2 separate regions of the Homo sapiens genome follow, and region 2 is linked to region 1. The links are contacts of gene promoters, found by promoter capture Hi-C in blood cells and fetal thymus (Javierre and others, 2016). All regions are on one chromosome and are shown on one strand. Each heading gives the region's core, a stretch centred on a gene start or on the middle of the fragment in contact. The rest is flanking DNA. Distances are from core to core; before and after follow the strand shown.

Region 1 (6,645 bases), core at 3,462-5,961:
GTTGAGGCACACAGAGAAGGGGCGGAATTCTGGCTACCTCTGAGCTGAAAGTCTTCCCAAAATAAAAGGAAGGTCTGGATGACCCGTGACGTTTCTGGTGCATGTGTGAGGTGTGTGCATTTCTTCTTTATGCAAAATATAAGAAAACTTACATATAAAAAAGACAAGGGGGGAGTGCTCTGTGTGCAGTGGGGGAGGGGCCCAGAGCAGAGGAGGACTGCTCCCCAGGGCTGAGAGGCACCTGAGGGCGCCAGGGTGGCAGCAGGAGCTCTTTCCTCCCTCTCTGTCTCTGTCTCTCTCTTTCTCTCTCTCTCTGTCAGCAGTGACTCATGGACCCCAGGGCCTGAGATGTCTATCCCAGTTGTGGAGATGCCAGTCTGAGGGGCAGGCCAAGGATTCATTTGCTTCTTAGCGTGAAGAGCTGAGAGGACACAGGACCCATCCCTCGTCCATTAGGGATCATGAGGGCAACTGGGGGAGTTCTGGGTGCTTCTCCACAGCCAGATATTAGAGACCCTGTGATTATTTTCTGCTAAAACCAGGGCACACTGCCAGAGAAGCCGATGGGCTGCTCTATGTGAGACTCCATCCAATTCACTTCCAGGATGTTTTACCCTTTGGGGCAGAGCCATCTGCTTCCGTGCATGGCTTGAATCCAGCTTACCAACATTGATAACTTTTTGTGCCTATGACAGGGACAGATGTCACTGCCAGCCCCTCATGTCGGCAGAGCAGGCACTCCCCATCCTCTCTGTGTTCATTCTATGCTGGGGAAGGGGGCTGGACACTGAAGGAGTGGCCGGGATGCAGAAGCAGTGCAGAGTGTGCTTCTGGGAGACACCCGGAAATCAGGGCAGCTGTGGGGCACAGGGCAAGGGTTACCTTGCCAGCCCCGAAGAGGAGAGGTGGCTGCAGCCCCACCTACACCAGATGCCTCTCTCCGTCCGTCCTGGGTGTCTCTTTCCATGCTCCACTCATGCCCACTGCCCTTCCAGATCACATTTCCAGGAAGTGCCCTGTTCTGGGTGTCACCATCACCCAAGCTGGGGGCACCTTGCAAGCCTTCTGGCCATGGCTTGCTGTCTCTCTGCAGGGTCCCAGGCCCAGGCCAGGGGCCAGTCAGGCAGTGCCGCATGTGGGAGCTGCCTCTTCAGCAGGGGGACAGGGGAGAGGGCATGAGGGGACCCCTGAGCTGCTTCACCTAATCCAAGTACAAACACCACAGCACCAGGTAAGTTAGGTCAGGTGCACTTATGATGAGGCTGATATAAAAAGGAGGAAGCGGAAGTGGGAACTATTTTTAGTTTCTGTATTTCCCTAACCAGGGCAGCTGGCACAGGGATTGGCTTCTTGGTCTCTGATTTCCACTCCAGCACTTTGGCCATCAGAGGATCCTGTGTGAGCTCAGCTGAGCCAGCCCCAACACCCCCCAGCAGCTTTTGGTGGGCAGTGGCAGCGGTCCCTGTGCAGGGCAGGAGCCTGGGGAAGCAGGGGCTGGGTGCTGCTGGTCCCTGGAAGAAGGACTTCTACCCCAGTGCTTTGTGAAGAGGACATGAGGGCAAAGTACTAATTTGCCCCTAGGTAACATGTGTGCTGGGGTTGTAGGCTGAGGTAAGGGTATGAATTCTGCCTGAGGAAAGGCTCAGCCTGGAGTGTAGTCCTGCTGAAGGCCAGAGACCACACACTCCACCCAGACTCCGGATCTCCCTCCCCAGCAGGGGGATGGAGGCCCTGCCGCTGGGAGTGCTGGTGTTATGTGGAAGGGCTGGGCTTCTCCAGGGCTCCTGGGAGGCCTAAACATCTTGCAAGGTTTTGACGTTAATTACTATTATGATTGCTTTCTGTGTGTTACTGTTTTCCCCACACTTTAGCCAGCTAATGTGGAGCTACAGAAGGCCCTCGCCCCTACCCCTCCAGATGTCCCAGCCCATGACAAGCAGGAAGGCCGGGTGCTGGGAGACTTCCTGGGGCTGGATCTGACATCATTCCAAGCAGATGATAACCTGCCTTCCCGATTTCCAAACCCACAGCAAGACACCCTGGAGTTATTTATAAATGCGAGCCCCTGGGTGCACTTCTGACGGGACCAGCACCCTGACGGCCATGAGAGGGTGGAGACAGCGCACCCCGAGCTCAGGGAGGCAGGAAACTCTGGACCTGGAGGCCGGGCACCATGAGGGACACGCTGCAGGCCCAGCTGCTGCCGCCTGGGGCGGGGCTGCCCTGCAGGCTCCGGGAAAACCCAGAACCAGGCCGGATCAGCGTGTGTCAAGAGGCGGGGCGTGAGAGATGAGCTGCTTTTTTTCTTCACAGGGTTGGCAGGAACTGCAAATAATAGAAAGTCTTTAGGGTCTAACACGCTGCCCTGAAAACACTATCATTACTTTCCTAATGACTAACTGTGTCTTTCAGCCGGCGGGGCAGGCAGCTGAGGCCGCAGGCTCCCGCAGAGGACCGGGGGAGGCTGGCAGCCTGTAATCTGGGGGCGCTGACAGTGCTCTGCCCAGACCCTCGCGCCAGCTCCAGCTCCAGCACAGCAGCCCTGGGTCCCTCTGGCCCCCTGCCCGCAGAGTCCAGGTGTGGCAGAGGCCGCCCAGTATCCCTTCTCCTCCTCCTTTTCTAAAAACAGAGTCTCACGATGTTTCCCATGCGGGTCTCCAACGCCTGGGCTCAAGCGATCCTTCTGCCTCGGCCTCCCAAAGCGTTGGGATTAAGGGGCGAGCCACCGCGCCCGGCCCACCTTCCCTTCTGGTTCATTTCCAGTAAGGTCCTGTCCACAGCGTCCTTCCCAGCATTCCCACCAGGCTGCAGGCCTTGGCCTCCCTCCCCTCCATTCTCATTCTCCCCGAAACCGCCAAGCGCGTCCAAAGCACGGGTTCGCCAAGCGCCCCCCCCGCCCCACTCCACATTCCCTTCCCCGCCGACTCAGCCTCCGTAGCTCGCGGACGGCCCCTCCTCACGCCAGCCCAGGCTTTTTTTTTTTTTTTTTCTTCTATTTTAAGGTTGTCTTTTAATGACACAAGCGACATTTGGAGACAAAAGGACACATCTCTTCCTGACCCACCTCCAACCCCAGCTGACGGCCGCCCTGAGCCTGGCGTAGACGGCCCGGAACGTTCCCTGCGTGGGTTCCGTCCATCCCGAACCCCTGTCCCCGCGCCGGCTCCGGGGGTGCTCGGGGGGCCGCGTGGGGTCTGTGACGTCGCCTCGAGGCTGCATCCCGGTGACCCGGCAGCCCCTGGCGCTCGCGGGAGGCGGGCGGGCGCGGACCCCAGGCTTTAGGGCGCGATTCCTGCAGCTGGCTGCCGGCCCGAGGTTCTGGGGTGTCTGAGGTCTCGGGCGGGGCGAGGACGTTTCTCCGGCTCAGCCCCCCCACCTCCTGCCCTGCCGCCCCCCACACCCAGCTCCCCACGGACGCCAAGAGGCGCCTCCCACCCCGGCGAGGACCCGCGGGGAAACGGGGCCCAGGCGCGGCGACTGCGGAGGACGCGCCTCGGCCCCAGCGCCCTGGTCCTCGGGGCGTCCGGCTGCCCTTGCCCGAGGCCGGGGCGGGCGCTCAGCGCCGCGGAAGAAACGCCCGGGCGGGGACGCACAGCGAGGCGGGCTCCGCGGGAAGTACCGGGAAAACGGCGCGGAGCGGAACAGCCCGGAGCCAGCCCAGAGAAAGGGCGGCCTCCCCCTGCAGCCCCCGGGGCCCAGCAACGCCCCGCCCCAGGCCACGGCACGCGAACGCCGGGCGGGCGGAGGGGACAGGGCGGCGGGACCAGCGCGGGGCGGGCAGCGTCTGGGCACAGGCTCACGAGCCGCTCGGGGCCCCTGCCCGCCGGGCGCTGCGGCCCCAGCCTCCGGGCCGGGGCCAGGCCCACAGAGAACGGGAAGCGGGCGCTGCAGGGGGACCTTCGGGGTTGCGGCACGGCTGGGAATTCAACGGCCATTCCCGTCCCGTCGGGCCCACCCGCCCGCCCGCCAAATCCCCGCCCACCGCGGATCCGCCCCGTCCACCAAGGTCTCGCTCACCAACGGCCCGCCCCGCCCACCACAGGCCTGGCCCGCCCACGAAGGCTCGCCCCGCCCATCCACGGCCCTGCCCACCACAGGCCCGCCCCAAGCCTGGGCCCCGCCCCAGCAAGGGCACTAATCCCCTAACCCCCGAGCCCCGCCCACTGCTCTTGCCCTTCTCCCGCCCGCCCCGACTTAGGCCTCTCCCCGGCCTGGCCTCCCGTACTCAGCCCCGCCCCTGCCCCGCCCCCACCCCACCCCAAATGTGACCTGCCCCTCCCACTGCCCGTCCCCTCCCCGCTTCACTTCATTAGGCCCCCGCCCCGATTCTTGCCCCGCCCGCTCAATGTCCCGCCTACGACCCCGCCCACTACTAGTGACCGGCCCGCCCGTTCGAGGCCCCGCCTCCTCCCCGCCCAATGCTCGGCCCCGCCCCGCGCGTCATTGGGCCAGGTCCCCGCCCCGCCCCCAGCCCCACCCCCGCCCCTTTGACTGGAGTTGGCTTTTTCCAGAGAACTTTCCGGGCTCGGATTGGCCGCGCCGGTTGATGTTCCGCCCTTTCATTGGCCCGCGGCGCCCGCTTTCGCGAGCCTGCCCTTGGGCGGGGGCGGGGCCGGCGGCGGCGCGCGGCGCTAGATTGGTTAGCGGCGCAGAGGGGCGGGCCCGCGCCGCGCGCAGCGCTCGGGCTGGAGCGCCTGAAGCCGCGACCGCCGCCTCAGCCGCCTCAGCCGCGGTCGCCGCCGCTTCGGCTGACTTAGGCTCCGCCGCCGCCTCCTCACCCGCCTCGCCCCGACCCCGCCCGGGCCTCCCGGCCTCTCCCCGCCGGCCCGCGGGCTCGCCGTCCGGCGCAGGGCAGGTGAGTGAGCGGTGGCGGGCGGGGTCGGGGTCGGGCGCCCTTGCGGGTTACGGGGACCCAGTCCCCGACGGAGGCCGAGTGACGGGGCGACCCCGGGCCGCGGCAAACTTCGCCCGAGCCGGGGCGGGCGGGGGTCCCGGGCTGGGTCGCGCCGTCCCCGACCGCCGCCGGCGCCTGCGGCGGCCCGGGGCAGCGAGGGGACTCGCGCTCCCTCAAGGTGCGGTCGCCAGGCCTGGCCCGCCCGCCTCCGCCCCCTCCCCAAATTCGGAAGTTGCGGCGGGAAGCCGAGAACGTCTCGGATGTGGGTCAGAAAACGTCTGGACTACTTGAGGCTTCAGTTTCAAAACGGCACAAATTTCATCTCTTGATTGAGAAGAGATCTGGGGAACACCCCGGAGCGGCCGCGGCGGCTGGAGGGCGGCGGGGCGGGGCGCGGGGCCTCCTCCCCCTGGACGGCCGCCGGGAGAGCGCGGCCTCACCCCTCGGTGACCCTGCGGAGAGCCGCGCGCGGGCGGTGGGGCGCGCGCAGGTCTCTCTTGTTGCTCGCTGTGTTTTATTTTAATTTTGGGGGTGGTTAGAACGTGTTTCTTATTGTCCCCACACGTGTTCTAATTGGAAGTCTTGTTTCGTGAAAGAGTTTTTTTCTTTTTTTTGCCTGGTGATGTTTTCCAATTCCCTCCGCGCCACTCTGAAGTATATTACTGGCATAAGAAATTTGAAAGTTAACCAAAAGTCGGGTCCTAAATCTCGTGGCTCGGGGTTGGTTATCTTCCACCGTCCTTCAGAGCAGCCTGGATTTGCAGGTCTTGTTAGCCCTCCATGTGAGCCAGTAGCACTCTTAGTTGTTGAGTGTTTGTAGAGTGGGATTCGCCAGAAGGAATCTTGAGCAGCAGGGCCTTGCGGAGAGGCCTTTAGAGATTAGACTGGGCAACTTATAGACTCCCCCCATTTCAAAAATATTCCTCTGGCACAGGCCCTCACATATCCCTCTGAAATTGAACTCACTTTCAGGGGCAAACTGTTGCCCTTTTTCTTTTCTTTGGACTTTCTCAGATGTGGATCCCAAAGGAGTGTGCAAGGGTGCTTCCCTATTTAAGAGAACTAACTCCCAGTCCTCCTCATATTCAAGAATAATTCATCATCTTAAAGCGTGTCAGAGATACCTATTTTGGCCCCAAAAGGAGTGTTTGTAGAACAGTGGCACTCTAAAGGGATCATTTGCAAGATCTGAAAGGACCTAATTGATCATCACACGACAGAAGCAGAAATAGTTCTGGTGTTTTCAGGCTTGGAGATCTGTCAGAAAACATGGGGCCTTAAAACTAACAAGTGCAGTGACCGACTAACTGATGTCTCACTTTCGAGCAGTATTTTTTTTTTTTGCTTGTATGTAGATGCTGTTGTTTATACAGTGCAAGTTCATTACGAATGGTTTAGAACTTACGTAGCTTCACGTATTTTCTTAGTTGATAATATTATAAGGTTTTGAAAAAGTTTTGATGATAAATGGGGTCTTTATAACTGAAAAAAATGGACTCTGTCTAGAATTCAGGGCTTTTTGGCTGGCGTTGCCCCAGGTGCTGCTGATTAGTGGTGCTTTTGGACCTCAAAACATCACTTTCCCAGATATCTTTATAATGCTCATGGTGGGGGAAAACCCACACAGCTTTGTGGTTACGTTTTTAGCTATTTATGCGAAAAAGTTCAACATATAGTTGTATTTTGCTAGCTGTTTTGAAGAAGCTATTCTTTACCCTATTGTTCTGAGGAGGCTGACAGCATGCTGCATT
Region 2 (6,295 bases), core at 2,411-4,910, 280 kb after region 1:
GGTGGAGAGGCACACGAGGGGGAAGCTTCTACCGGAGGGTCCTTGTCATGCTGGAGGGTGGCGGCGGGTGCTGAGCCGTGGTGCAGCCAGGTTGCAGTCTGACGGGGTCTCTCTCTCTCTCTAGGCCTACACAATCCAGGGACAGTATGCCATCCCTCACCCGGATGTGAGTCTTCACTTTGTCTTCCTCTCACCTTTCTCTTCTCATGGTTGTTTACCTACCTGCATGCTGCTGTTAATTGCTACTAACATTAATATTACACAATAATATTAATCAACTTCTCAGCGTTCCTGACCTGTGTCGTATCCATATGACCTCGAATAACCTTTTAACCTCTTAGCACTAATTCTGCTTGTGTTGAGGACTTGGCCTGATGTCAAATTGTCTCAATTCTGCCGCAGTCCTGGGTTTTCCTCCCTCCCACGGGGCCTGGGAGGGAACTGAGACGGGCTCTGTCCCCGTGCAGGGCAGTGAGGATGTGCTCACCCGCCACAGGCAGGCGTCAGTGATACTTTCTCTGCGCCTAAGAAGTTGGGTGACATTATCAAACAGGCCACAAAGATACCTTGGCAAGCACATTTGAGGGCCTGGTGAAATTAACTCCCCCTTTCAGAGTCCACATGAAAACATAGGGTCCATCTACACACACAGATCCAGGCTGTGGAAAGCCAGTGGAATAGGCCTTTGTCTTCATTCCAGAATCAGTGGGATGCCAGGCGGGCATAGCGTCCTTGGCTCCGCCCGGGCCATGCGGAGCTGGGTCCCATGCAGCTCCATGACCGGGGGCTCCGACACCTCTTTTCTGCTCCTGCTGGGTCTAGGTGTAATTCCAGTGCTGGAGGAAGAAGTTACCCTCAGATAAACGGTCGGTGTAATTCCAGTGCTGGGGGAAGAAGTTACCCTCAGATAAACGGTCGGTGTAATTCCAGTGCTGGGGGAAGAAGTTACTCTCAGATAAACCGTCGGTGTAATTCCAGTGCTGGAGGAAGAAGTTACTCTCAGATAAACGGTCGGTGTAATTCCAGTGCTGGGGGAAGAAGTTACTCTCAGATAAACGGTCGGTGTAATTCCAGTGCTGGGGGAAGAAGTTACCCTCAGATAAACGGTCGGTGTAATTCCAGTGCTGGGGGAAGAAGTTACCCTCAGATAAACCGTCGGTGTAATTCCAGTGCTGGGGGAAGAAGTTACCCTCAGATAAACCGTCGGTGTAATTCCAGTGCTGGGGGAAGAAGTTACTCTCAGATAAACCGTCGGTGTAATTCCAGTGCTGGAGGAAGAAGTTACTCTCAGATAAACGGTCGGTGTAATTCCAGTGCTGGGGGAAGAAGTTACCCTCAGATAAACCATTGGTGTAATTCCAGTGCTGAGGGAAGAAGTTACCCTCAGATAAACCACTGGTGTAATTCCAGTGCTGGAGGAAGAAGTTACTCTCAGATAAACCGTCGGTGTAATTCCAGTGCTGGAGGAAGAAGATACTCTCAGATCATCCATCGGAGGGGAACCCTGGGCGGCTCTGGGCTGTGCGGCTCAGACCCCTTAGGGGCCAAGAGATAAAAGGTGCAAACTGTGAGCAAAGGGCCTCTCTGGAGGCGGCTTTAGGGCCCCCAGGGAGTGACGGCCGCACTGGCAGGCACTGGGGAGAGGAGAGGGGAGAGCAACAGAGAACGAGAGACAGACGGCCCCACCGGAAGTGCTTCGTGCTGTCAGCAGATGGGGCAAACCTGGAGTTGGTTCTGAGGAGGTTTCTCTTCTCTAAACCATTTTGAACGTTTGCCCAGCTCAGTAGCTGCTCCTCGTAACGCAGTTCCAGTCTGTGTGCTGCTCCCTCTGAACTGCGAGAGGCGCCTCTGAGCTGGTTGGGAGGTGGCCGCCAGGTGAGCGGGCTGCTCCAGAGCCTTCTGCAAACCCTGATGCTTTTGAGTTGGGGGCAAGGACGTCCATCTGAGTGAGATGAGAAGGCAGGTCAGGAGTGTTTTTAAGAGTTAATGAACATTAAATAAATCTTTGATATAGAGATGCAATTTACTATCATTGCAGGAAAATTTATATTGAATGGAGAATAGATAACAATAGTTATTCCATTAAAGGCAACACATGAATCAAATGGTAGAGAAACGCTGATCAAGAAAAGCCTTTCCCCACCTGCCCCAGAGGCCGTTTTTAGTGGTTCCTGGCGTCAGACCTTTGGTGATGCTGCTGTAGCTACATCAAGGACATCTCATCCTGGGGTCAGCTGTAGACACCAGTGCCTGACCCCACTAGGAAGCCGGGCTGTGGCCACCACACACCGGAAGGCACTGTTGGGGCTGCCCCAGCCTGCGCCCAGCAGCAGCGTTGGGCAGAAGCAGAGGTGTGTGTGTGTGTGTGTGTGTGCGCGCGCGCGTGCGCGTCCCCGTGCATGTGTGTGGCAGGGGTGTGGGGGGCAGGTGTGATGTGTCCTAACAGAAAGCCTGTGTGAAGGAAGATGAAGATGGAAGCCAGGGGAGTCAGAGGCGACTTTCTGGGGTGGCCCAGTTCCATTAAGGACTCAGGACAGGTGGTCACGCACATCTAGAGATGCACGTGTGCAGAGGCAGGTTCCAAAGGGGGGGTCACTTGACTTTGCAAAGCTCTGGAACCCAAAGGAAAGGCAGTGTGCGGTGCCCTTGGTAAAGGGAAGGTTAGTCGATGGGGTCAGGGTTTGTGTTTACCCCAGACAGTCGCCCTGAAGTTGGATGCTCAGACCTGCAGGGACCCTCTGGTGACACCTTACGGATTTCCTGTGGCCACAGAGCCTAACGTTCTCACTGTGGCCTTTGGCTGAGCACCCGTCTGAGCCAGAATGCTTGTGGTCTGAAATTTCCAGAGGCCGTGGCTGTGTGCCACGGTGGGACTGCAGGACCCTGATGTTTGGTGATTGGCTTTTACTTCGATTGGTGGCTTTGCTCTTTCTCATGTGACTTTCTCAGTATCTCTTAGAAATGGGTAGTTGTGCAGATTGTTTCAAATTAGTTTAATGTATAACTAACTGTTAAGAGAACTGCCTCAGTGCATGTGGTAATGATTTGAGATACCTGGTGCTATGGTTTAAATATGTCTATTCCTCCACAATTTCTCTGTTGGAACCTAATCACCAAGGTGACAGTATTAGAGGGTGGGGGGTCCCAGGGCTGGGGAGTGATTGGGTCATGAGCGCTCCACCCTCGTGAACAGCATTGGTGCCCCTATAACAGAGGCCTCAGATAACAGAGGCTTCAGATAACAGAAGCTTCAGAGAGTGGCCTCCCCTCCATCCCTCCTGTCATGTGAGGACAAGAGCGTTCAGGCACCATATTGAAAGCAGAGACTTGGCCCTTCCCATACACCAAACCAGCCAGCACTTTGATCTCCAGTTTCCAGCCCCCATAACTGTGAGCCACACATTTATGCTGTTTCTGAATTGCCCGGTCTAAGGCATTTTGTCATAGCAGCAGGAGTGGACTAAGGCGCTTGGTTCTTTACTGTGAAGTATCTCTCTGTGGAAGACATTCTGTTTCTACATCGGTGTCATGAGATTTGCAGAGCAGCTGTTATTAATAGAAGACTGGAAGCTTCCATGGTGCTTTTCTTGCAGGCGTGTAAAATTGAAGACTTGGACAATCACTTAATCATTAAACACAAAAATAAAATGATTGTTTAGTGACATAGGTAACAATAGTCAGGAAGCAATTTGTATCTGAGCTTGGTATTTAGTAGAAATTTTTAAAGCATCGGTATTTAGTAGAAATTTTTAAAGCTTCAATTTCTTACTATATCAATATAATTATAGAATATGTTGTTTTAATTTATAATGTAATTGAATACAAAGTTTATTTATACCACAGTGCCGGCTTATATACAGATACTAGAGTCATTTTTTAGGAACGTGATATTTGACCTGGATGTGTGGGCCCATGAATAAGAAACATCAAGCATAAGAAAATACATTCCTTAGGTTTGAGTATTTCTTTATGTAAAACTAAAATATGCATGTGTTTTCTGTGCCCAGTTTTAAAAAGTGTTTTTAGCTTGTTCTTATTTAAGAATCATCTGGGCTGGGCATGGTGGCTCAGGCTGGGTGTGGTAGCTCAAGCCTGTAATCCCAGCCCTTTGGGAGGCTGAGGCAGGTGGATCGCTTGAGCTCAGGAGTTTGAGACAAGCCTGGCCAACATGGCGAGACCCCGTCTCTACCAAAAATACAAAAAAATTTAGCCAGACGTGGTGGCACACGCCTGTAGTCCCAGCTACCCGGGAGGCTGAGGCGAGAGGATTGCCTGAGCCCGGGAGGTGGAGGTTGCAGTGAGCCAAGATCATCCCTCTGCACTCCAGCCTGGGCGACAGAACGAGACCCGTTTCAAAAAAAAAAGGAGTCATCGGCACTGATCTGCCTTCGCCTGCTTTTCTCCAGCTCCTCACACGCCACATGCATCATTTTACCCACGTCCTCCTCGAGGCTTACTGTGCTCTGGATGTGCAGGTGTTTTGAAGAGGCACAGAGCTGCTCGACAGGGTGAAGGACTTAGGAGGACTGAAGTCAGGCTCTCCAGTATGGCCACTCGGCAGCCCTGGAGACTATCCATGTGCCTCTGTGTGTCCTGCCTGGGTCAGACCAAGTGCAGTTTCAGAAATGAGAAAGAGAAACAGCACCTGAGACCTGGGACCTGAGAGCAGAGCCGAGAGCGCCCACACCTGGACAGACTGCTTGACTCTCACCCAGCACGTCTGCACCTTTAATTACAGCGGGGAAGTTACACCAGGAAGGAATTGTTTTTTCTGGAAGAAATGAGTGAACTTCAAAAATACCCTCATAGGCCAGGTACAGTGGCTCTCTCCTGCGATCCCAGCACTTTGAGAGGCCAAGATGGGAGGATTGCTTGAGCCCAGGAGTTGGAGACCAGGTTGGACAAAAGAGCAAGACCCCATTTCTACAAAAAAATACAGAAATTAACTGGGTGTGGTGGCACACACCTGGAGTCCCAGCTACTCAGGAGGCTAAGGTGGGGCAGTTACCTGAGCTCCGGCAGTCGAGACTGTAGTGAGCAGAGATTGCACCACTGCACTCCAGCCTGGGCGACAGAGCAAGACCCTGTCTCAAAAAAAGAAAAAATACCCTCATATATACAAATCTTTATTTCTAGTCTTCCAGCTCTCCTAATCACTCCCTTACTTAACGTCCCCATCATTTAAAGGGGATGTTGAAAGCAAGCAAAAATAAAAACATGTTAGAGTTGACGAAGAGTTTGCCATGTAGGCGATTTTAGATGAGCCTTTGCACCAACCCTGTGAGGCAGATCTCAGGACCGTGGGGCCAGTTCCACACACGAGGAAGTGGAAGCTCTGAGAGGTGCCTTGGCCAGAGCTAATGAGCCAGGGAATGGGAGGGCTTGGCACAGCCGCCCAGGCAGCTGGACGTGAGTGGCAGATGTGCAGCAACGCTGGGAATCAAGCGGACACCAGTGTCTACTAAGAAGCTGGTTCTTCAGTGAAAGAGTCGTGGGGAAATTGTAGAAATGTGTCGTTGTAAGTGGGAGCCAGGGATGGGAGGCACGACCAGATCCTGTGCTGGATGCGGCCCTTCATCCCAGCTGTGCAATCCCCGGGACTCTGTCGGTGCCACGCATTTCCCCTGGACACATGAAGGGCACGCGTGGGCTCTTGTGACAATCTCATGCACTTGCAGAGATTTGGGCAGATTGTTGCAGAGTGCTTTCTCCTCCCACTTGTTCTGTGTCTCCCTCTGGAACCCTGTGGGGAGGTGGGTGAGGGGTCCCCTCACTGTAGTGAGAGAGTAGTCAATGCCGCATGCTCTGGGCACATGCCGAGGGGCCCAGCCTCTCTCACTCTGAAGCCTGGCACCTTCCAAGACCTTGCAGCTGCAAGTGGTGCAGCGGCTTGCCCATGGCCCCACCTGCTGTCAGAGCTGTGCTACTGCAGCCACTCCTTTCATGAAACAAGAGGCCCAGGCAACCCTCACTGCTGGCTGGAGTTCCATCTTTCCTTGCTTGGAACACCGCACCCTCTGCAGGGCCCCAGTGGCACGGCTCTCACATGCTGTTCCTCCCAGCTTGCCCTTCTCAGAACGAGACTTTGCATCTTTACAGGACCCTCGGGCGACTCACTGGCCCGTGGAGGTCTGAGAAACACTAGTCAGGAGGCCTGAGAAGGAAGAACATGCATCCAGTTGGAAGCCCAGGGGAGACATGGAATGGAGAGAGAAAATTCCAAGAGACACACAGAGAACCTTCCAAAATTAGAGAAACCATCAACAATTCCCAAACAGGATAAACAAATAATACA

What was found. Contacts are between HindIII fragments. The CHiCAGO score rates a contact against its expected background, and 5 or more counts as called.
Region 2: a fragment that was not itself captured here is called in contact with the fragment with the promoter of PCBP3 in region 1 in 1 of 17 cell types (naive CD4 T cells); the score reaches 5.8 in naive CD4 T cells.

The regions. Positions count from the first base shown.
Region 1 is chr21:45,639,014-45,645,658 of GRCh38, forward strand. It overlaps PCBP3 (poly(rC) binding protein 3), which reads left to right and starts at 4,712. Exons shown (of 18, transcript NM_001384156.1): 1 at 4,712-4,855. RefSeq lists silencers at 3,917-4,906, 5,227-5,366. The HindIII fragment of the contact is 8,393 bases long and covers 1-6,645 here.
Region 2 is chr21:45,917,464-45,923,758 of GRCh38, forward strand. PCBP3 (poly(rC) binding protein 3) reads left to right here. Exons shown (of 18, transcript NM_001384156.1): 13 at 125-166. Among named protein-coding and RNA genes, the nearest start is that of COL6A1, 61 kb to the right of the region's middle. RefSeq lists an enhancer at 1,712-2,211. The HindIII fragment of the contact is 185 bases long and covers 3,569-3,753 here.